Linked DNA regions of Homo sapiens: all the other regions are linked to region 1. Evidence: promoter capture Hi-C in 16 types of primary human blood cells and fetal thymus (Javierre and others, 2016). All regions are on one chromosome and are shown on one strand. Each heading gives the region's core, a stretch centred on a gene start or on the middle of the fragment in contact. The rest is flanking DNA. Distances are from core to core; before and after follow the strand shown. Region 1 holds the start of GJD3 (gap junction protein delta 3). Region 2 holds the start of KRT222 (keratin 222). Region 3 holds the start of KRT28 (keratin 28).

Region 1 (2,700 bases), core at 186-2,685:
TGGGGGGAAAAAGTCCTATTTTTCACATTATAAAATAACATGAGGCCGGGCGCGGTGACTCAAGCCTGTAATCCCAGCACTTTGGGAGGCCGAGGCAGGTGGATCACCTGAGGTCAGGATTTCGAGACCAGCCTGACCAACATGGAGAGATCCTGTCTCTATTAAAAATACAAAATTAGCTGGGCATGGTGGCACATGCCTGTAATCCCAGCTATTCAGGAGGCTGAGGCAGGAGAATCGCTTGAACCCGGGAGGAGGAGGTTGCGGTGAGCTGAGATCACACCACTGCACTCCAGCCTGGGCAACAAGAGCAAAACTCTGTCTCAATAAATAAATAAATAAATAAATAATAAAATAACATGTTAGGCCGGGTGTGGTAGCTCACGCCTGTAATCCCGGCACTTTGGGAGGCTGAGATAGGCGGATTGTTTGAGGTCAAGAGTTCGAGATCAGCCTGGTCAACATGGCGAAACCCCACCTCTACTAAAAATACAAAAATTAGCCGGGCGTGGTGGCGCACACCTGTAATCCCAGCTACTGGGGAGGCTGAGGCAGGAGAATCGCTTGAACCCGGGAGGCGGAGGTTGCATTCAGCCAAGATCATGCCACTGCACTCCAGCCTGGGCGACAGAGCTAGACTCCATCTCAAAACAAACAAATTAAAAATAAATAAATAAATAACATGTTCATTATAGTAAAGCTGGAAATAACAGAAAAGTGGGAAGGAAACCAAAGATTTTATTTAACTATCAAAGCCAGGCACTTGGGATATTTTAATGGTTTTCCATATGGGATTTTTTTTTTTTTTTTTTTTTTTGCAGGCACAAGGGTTTTTTTGGTTCTCTGTAATATGGTTGGGAATTCAATATTAAGAAGTAGAGAATCCCAGCTACTCAGGAGGCTAAGGTGTGAGGATCACTTGAAGCCAGGAGTTCAAGATCGACCTGGGCTATGTAGAGAGACCCCGTTCCAAAAAAGATGTAAAGCTGGAAGGAAACTTGGGGGTCAGCTGGACTGGCCGCCTTTGTTGACAAGGCAGGAAAGCCTGGCTCAGTACCGCCGAATGATTTGTCCAAGGTGAGCGGTGGCAGAGCTGGAACCAGAAGCTGTTAGATGTTTGCTGCCCCTTAAACTCCAGCACCAAACCTCCCTCTGTCCCCGAAGACCATCTTCACAGGGCATGGTTAGTGCGTAGTGGATCTAGGCTCCAGACTGAGGGTCTGTCTGGGAAGGGCTTCTAGGAATCCCCCAGCTTCCTCGATAAAGGATGTGGCTCTGGTTACCCCCCTCCCCCATTTCCAGATGGAAATTTAGCTAAAGAGTGAGGGCCACAGAGCCCAGCAAGGGGCGTGGTCCGTGCCTGTTCCCAAGGGCGGAGCCAGCCAGCAGGGTCACCCTGTTCCTTTAAGAGAAGGGGGAGCGCTAGCCCCTCTCAGCCATCCTGTCCTGTCCTCCATCCTGGCCAAATCCGAAAGGGAAAATGAAAGAGGGAGCAGGAGGCGCCGGTCCCAGCCACCTCCCAAGGTCCCTGGCTCAGCTCTGACACCCCAGTCCCGGCCCCAGGGTGAGTGGGGTTGGGTGGCGGTTTAGGGGCACCAGGGGCGTGTGGGGACCTGTGTAAGTGTGGGGTGGGGAGGATCTCAGGAGATGTGGAGGCTGGAGGCACAGGAGGCCAGGGAGGAGGGAGAAGCCTGGCGTCGCACTCCCACCACGCTGGGGTAGGAGGGCAGGGACACCTCCGACAAAGGACCCTGTGAGAGTTATGAAAGCGGAGTTGCCTCTGTACCAGCCCCCCACCCTGAGAGGAGTTCACTGCAGTAAAAATGGTGAGAGAAATGGTGGGCCAAGAAAGGAGTGGTCTCGCTGCCTCTGCCACTCCCACTCCTCCCATGGGCACCAAATTGGGTCTAGCGTCTCGGGTTCGAGGCTCCACTCTTCCCACAGCATCCTTGACAGCTAAGGGCACCGCTGGGTTTCCGCTTCCGAAACCAGGCAAGTCAGGGGCTGGTCCAGCTGATCTCCAAGGTCCTTCCTAAGAATCTGGGATCTGGAGGATCCCAGGGTCGAACGGAGACGGCTCAGGGGGTGCGGCTAAAATGCAAATGGGGGATCCTCCCCAGCACCCATCGGTCCCAAAGAGAAGGTAACCCATAGCTGAGCGTCGCCTGCTCCCCTCGGGCCCTCCCGTGGCCCTCCGTTTCATACTGGTCTCATCGCTAAACCCGGGCCTCTCCTACCTCACGACTCACCCTGAAGTCAGAGAAGGTCCAACGGACCCCACCCCGATAGGCTTGGAAGGGGCAGGGGTCCCTGACTTGCCCCATCCCCTGACTCCCCGCCCCGCGTCCCCAGCGCCATGGGGGAGTGGGCGTTCCTGGGCTCGCTGCTGGACGCCGTGCAGCTGCAGTCGCCGCTCGTGGGCCGCCTCTGGCTGGTGGTCATGCTGATCTTCCGCATCCTGGTGCTGGCCACGGTGGGCGGCGCCGTGTTCGAGGACGAGCAAGAGGAGTTCGTGTGCAACACGCTGCAGCCGGGCTGTCGCCAGACCTGCTACGACCGCGCCTTCCCGGTCTCCCACTACCGCTTCTGGCTCTTCCACATCCTGCTGCTCTCGGCGCCCCCGGTGCTGTTCGTCGTCTACTCCATGCACCGGGCAGGCAAGGAGGCGGGCGGCGCTGAGGCGGCGGCGCAGTGCGCCCC
Region 2 (2,700 bases), core at 190-2,689, 300 kb before region 1:
GAATCAGTTTGGCCTAGATAATCATTAATGACTCTCTTTAGTCAGAGCTTTCTGTCTCAGCCTACTCCAAAGGTCTCTGACCAATCTATAGATAATCAAGTTGTGACTGATGGGGAAGGTGCAGGAGGTAGGGAGGGGTGGGTCAGAAATAACCTGGAACCTCTCCTCTCACCAGGAGCTGTGGGTAGGACAGCTTTGTTTGGAGAGGGCTGTGAGAATGCCCAGCATAGACTGGCCTGGCCAGATGTGAGTTAATTCAGAAATTAAAAGAGCAGGACATGCATGCAAAGGCCCTGTAAGGGCTAGAACCCAGGTCTGATTATCTCCTGAACTGTGCTCCAGATACAATTCAGCCAAAGCCACTCCACAAATAACAATAATGATAGATCCACTCTCACGACATATTTCTGTCACATCTAGCAACCAGCTGGCAAGATTAAACCAGGAATTTAGAAGGGGAGAGAGAGAACGCAGAGGCAGATATGCAGGGGTAATACATGGAACACAAGCAAGTTGTCAAAGAGCCAGTCCCAGTGATGTCATACATCACTGAGCAACCTTGGGCAAGATGCCTCAACCTCTCTGGCCTCAGTCTTTTCATCTTTACAGGTTAGAAAATGTCAGGGATTGCAAGGATTGGATGGAATGATACGCCAAATACACCCTCCGAAGGGCTCAAGTGATTGCAACGATTGGATGGAATGGTACACTGACTACACCCTCCAAAGGACTCAAGGGTTCTTTTGGTGAATACACCAAAAGGTCTATTTCTTCATCCTTGTTAAAACTTTGGAAATGTTAACTCACAACTCTCATAGTCTACCAGCACTTATCTGCAACATTTTGAGAAAACTAAATATAATTTTCTTTTTTTTTTTTTTTTTTTTTTTTGGAGATGGAGTCTCACTCTGTCACCCAGGCTGGAGTGCAGTGGCTCAATCTCGGCTCACTGCAACCTCCACCTCCTGGGTTCAAGCAATTCTCCTGCCTCAGCCTCCCGAGTAGCTGGGATTACAGGCACCCACCACCACGCCCAGCTAATTTTTGTATTTTTAGTAAAGACAGGGTTTCATCATGTTGGCCAGGCTGATCTCGAACTCCCGACCTCAGGTGATCCACCCACCTCAACCTCCTAAAGTGCTGGGATTACAGGCATGAGCCACCATGCCCGGCAATTTTCTTATGTTATGCCCCATTTCCTTTTCACAAAAATGAACTCCCCCTCCCCTCAAAGTGCTCAATTTTTACAGGGAACCAGTACAGGTTTTTGAAATTTTCCTTTCCTTCATGAAGAATCTGACATTTCTACTATACCAATAACAATAGGAGCAAAGAGTTTACCCTGTATTTGCATAATTAGTTAGAAAGATGAGAATTTCCGTGGCCTCCGAAAAAGGAGCTCTGCATCTTTAAAACTCTGCGAGGCTCCCTGCCTTCCGCGCAGACCGAGCAGACTGCCGCAGCGACTCATCCTATCGATAAGGTTCAGTTAGCCAAGGTGGAGGATGGGAAAAGAATGGAACTGTCCCAGCTACTCAATGAGATCAGGGCAAACTATGAAAAGATCCTCACCAGAAATCAGATAGAGACGGTGCTCTCAACAAGGATCCAGGTAATGATTTCATACAGACAGGCACCTTCCAGAATAAGGAGACAGTCCATGTCTACCCAATTCCTGTCCCGGCCTCTCTGAGGTACAGTATTTCCTTTTCGATGCAGCATCTATTGGGGAAGGAATTTAGCTTCTACTGCAGTGTGACTGGGACTACAGGGGGAAATACTGTGATTATATTGTTAAATTGCCATTAAGTAAGTGTTGATTGATGCATTTGATTTTTATATAAATTGTGAGGTTCCTATCATTAACATGGGGTCAACATACCATAAAATGGTGCACTCTAACCTCTTACAATCTTCAGGAAGGAACCATTCCAAATACCCTTCAAAGATATTATTGGAGTTATTTACAGAGATAATTTAAATAACATCTTTAAAATGAAAAATCTTTAAGTAAGATTTATTAGCATGTACACTTTCTAGAGATATTTCTAAAAGGTTTCTATCATCTTTTTAACGAGTTCCATTTTATACCAGATTGTTATAAATAGAAATCATCTGAGTGTGTGAACATGGCATTCAGAAACAATGATATAAATTATGACCATTGAAATTCCCCAAATTGGTAACGATTCTCCACTAAGATTTTTGCTTCTGTACTATAAGATGAGAAACATTTCTTTCCATTACAAAGCTTGTAATATTTAAGTATTTAAAAAAGAGAAAGAGAGCCTACTTAGATAAGGACTAAATCCTAATTTCATAGACTTAGTTTTAAAGTAACAATCACCTTCAGCAAGTAATTAAGGTCTCAAGTCTTTAAACAAATTTACAAACAAATATTTTAGAAACAAAGATTAAGAAATTTAGGGGATTTTTTAGTTTACCTATCATATATGGGTTCAAGTTATCTTCCAAACCCTGAAATACAGCAAAAAGTTTACTTAAGAATATCACCCAAAATTTTAAAAAAAAAAATTGGTAGAAAAATGTCAGGCCTTTATTCCATTAGCCACTCATTTTTAGTTCCATTGTAAATTTCACCTCTAGATAACATTTTCAGCCTTCATAAAGAATGATCAACATCTTAGATTAAGCAAAGTCACTGGTACAGGTAAGCATTGGGATAGTTCATTCACCTTT
Region 3 (2,700 bases), core at 47-2,546, 440 kb before region 1:
CCTCAATTGTTTTCTCAAGAACACCAGAAATTTCTTTGCCACTATTTCCTTCTTCTGGACCTGTCTTCAAATCCCAAAACCCACATCAATCTGATCATCATCCTTTCTATTCCTGCACCAGGATTACTTCCAAATATGCAGTTGAACATCATTATAAATGAGAGCTGGACCCTCCAATTTTCTTTTACTCATTGCTAGTCAAGTATTTTTCCAGTTCAGTATACATATTCTAAACAGTCATTCTTGCTATCAGTCACCTTCATCTGGAACATTCTGGCAACCCCTCAAATCCAGTTGGTCCAAACCTAAACTCAGTGTCTTCCTCCTCCTCTATTCCCCATCTCAGTGAATATTATGAGTTCCCAGAATCTAAAATTAATTACCTAAGAGTTATCCCCAATTCTGCCTTATTCCCTACTCTCCAAATTCAATCATATTACCATATGCTCTCAAAGCCATCTTCTCTGCATCCCCACTGCCTTCATCCTTCTCACCTGGACCATTATTCCAACCTTGTAATTGACCACCTTGTTTCATTTCAACCTGATCATTTTGCCCTCTGCTTTTTACTTAGGATTCATTACAAACTCTTTAGACCAGCACAGAAAGCTAACCATGATCCAGCCCCTGTCTGGACCTGACAATAGATTTCTTAAAGATTGTAATCACGCATTTTTCACTTCTGCATTTAGTTAACACTATGTCTTTCATTTTAGCACTTAGCATAGAGCACCAAACATCATAACCATGCTATTTTAAACAAAATAATAGGTCAATATTTGTGTCATTGTCCAAGATAATAAATAGATGTTATAATCATGGTAAGAACAGAGATGTCACTAGCCTCTGTTTTCTAAATAACACATTTTTTTCTGGTGGGATAAAATATCTGTTTCTGTAATTAGCAGTCCTTTATACCCCTCCATGGTAATTGAGACCCTACTGTACCTCACAGAACTCTATCATAATCTTACTTAACTTTATAAAAAATTTGATAATACCTGGCGCCAGATAATGACAGTATATGCCTAGGGTCTAGATGAAAGGAAAGGATTACTCACTCAAAATTAGAAGTTAAATTAATAAACTTAATATAGAACAAACCCTATTATATTTAAGATAAGAAATAGCCCAAAGCAACACCGAGGGATGTTAGACATTAATTATTTTTAAAATCACCCAATTATACATAATTTTATGCTAATCTAAGTGATGCCATTTTGCTTTTGGCATGTATAACTCAAATAGGAACGCCCCAATAATGATATATAAAAACCCAAAGAAATTATCAGTGCATGATATTCTGTTCTCTTGGGACATTACAGTTTTGCATAGACAAGGTGAACATTTCTCAAAACACCATGTCTCTCCAATTTTCTAATGGATCCAGGCATGTTTGCTTAAGGTCTGGAGCTGGATCTGTCAGACCCCTCAATGGAGGTGCAGGCTTTGCAGGCAGCAGTGCATGTGGTGGCTCTGTTGCTGGAAGTGAATTTTCCTGTGCCTTGGGAGGGGGCTTGGGCAGTGTTCCTGGTGGGAGCCATGCTGGTGGTGCCCTTGGAAATGCTGCTTGTATTGGCTTTGCTGGAAGCGAAGGGGGACTCCTCTCTGGAAATGAGAAGGTGACCATGCAAAATCTTAATGACCGCTTGGCATCCTACCTGGATAATGTGCGAGCTCTGGAGGAGGCAAATGCTGAATTAGAGAGAAAAATCAAGGGTTGGTATGAAAAATACGGACCTGGATCTTGCCGTGGACTTGATCATGACTATAGCAGATATCACCTAACAATTGAGGATCTTAAGAATAAGGTGAGAAATCACAGATTTGGAACTAACCCAAGTATTTAAAACTAAGAAATACCTAACAAAAGACATACAATAAGAAATGCTTCATGACTGTTATAACTTGTATTTATTTATTTAGATAAACAATTCTTCCTACTATTCAAAAATGGGCCCTTTGATTCATGAATTTTAATGTAGTTAAAATGTTATTAGTTCCATTGTTTATGTTGAAGTACATTCATAGGCATATGAATAAAAAAGTATTGTAGTTCTAAATTTAGGGGAATATATGAGAATAAATAAAACCATGTCTTTAATTTTTAAAAGTTAAACTTGAAACATTTTGATTATTACATAAGGAGGTGAAATTTTTATGCAAAAACTTGAGTAACCTTTTTCATTTCCTGAAATAATGAATCACATAAAAGCATACTTACTTGTTGTGTTCTCTGTTTTGGTTTATTCTAGATTATCTCCTCCACTACTACTAATGCTAATGTCATTCTGCAGATTGATAATGCCAGACTGGCTGCTGATGATTTCAGGCTAAAGTAAGTGACAGAAGAAAATCCTGCTCTAGAAAAAAGTTTCTATTTATTTAATTTGTTAAATAAAATTTCTATTTCATCCCAAGTAGAATGAACTATCACCTAAAAGATAAAAGGAAGCAAAGGATTTGTATTATAATGTTACAATCAACTTATACATAGTTATTATATTCCTGGGACAAAATATCAATATATTTCTCTGCCTGCCTAGAATACTGCCAAGCACAAAGTAGATGCTCAGTAAATCATTAGTCAACTAAGGAAAAACGTTAACTAAAATAAAATTCCAAAATGGTGTATTTTTATTTAACTAGGTTATGCTATTGGAATTTGTGTGATGAAATAACTTCCAATTATCCTGTACA

Evidence for each region. The method cuts DNA at HindIII sites, captures the fragments that hold promoters and counts their contacts. A CHiCAGO score of 5 or more calls a contact.
Region 2: a contact is called between the fragment with the promoter of KRT222 here and the fragment with the promoter of GJD3 in region 1, in 4 of 17 cell types (naive B cells, total CD8 T cells, activated CD4 T cells and 1 more). The highest score is 7.0, in naive B cells.
Region 3: the fragment with the promoter of KRT28 here is called in contact with the fragment with the promoter of GJD3 in region 1 in 5 of 17 cell types (naive B cells, total B cells, naive CD8 T cells and 2 more); the score reaches 13.7 in naive B cells.

The regions. Positions count from the first base shown.
Region 1 is chr17:40,363,472-40,366,171 of GRCh38, reverse strand. It overlaps GJD3 (gap junction protein delta 3), which reads left to right and starts at 1,435. Exons shown (of 1, transcript NM_152219.4): 1 at 1,435-2,700. The coding sequence starts at 2,357. GJD3-AS1 (GJD3 antisense RNA 1) reads right to left here. Exons shown (of 1, transcript NR_186704.1): 1 at 737-2,700. The HindIII fragment of the contact is 7,280 bases long and covers 1-2,700 here.
Region 2 is chr17:40,663,916-40,666,615 of GRCh38, reverse strand. KRT222 (keratin 222) reads left to right here and starts at 1,439. Exons shown (of 6, transcript NM_152349.3): 1 at 1,439-1,612. The coding sequence starts at 1,517. The HindIII fragment of the contact is 3,418 bases long and covers 1-2,253 here.
Region 3 is chr17:40,798,555-40,801,254 of GRCh38, reverse strand. KRT28 (keratin 28) reads left to right here and starts at 1,296. Exons shown (of 8, transcript NM_181535.3): 1 at 1,296-1,811; 2 at 2,256-2,338. The coding sequence starts at 1,362. RefSeq lists an enhancer at 2,118-2,700. The HindIII fragment of the contact is 3,919 bases long and covers 1-2,700 here.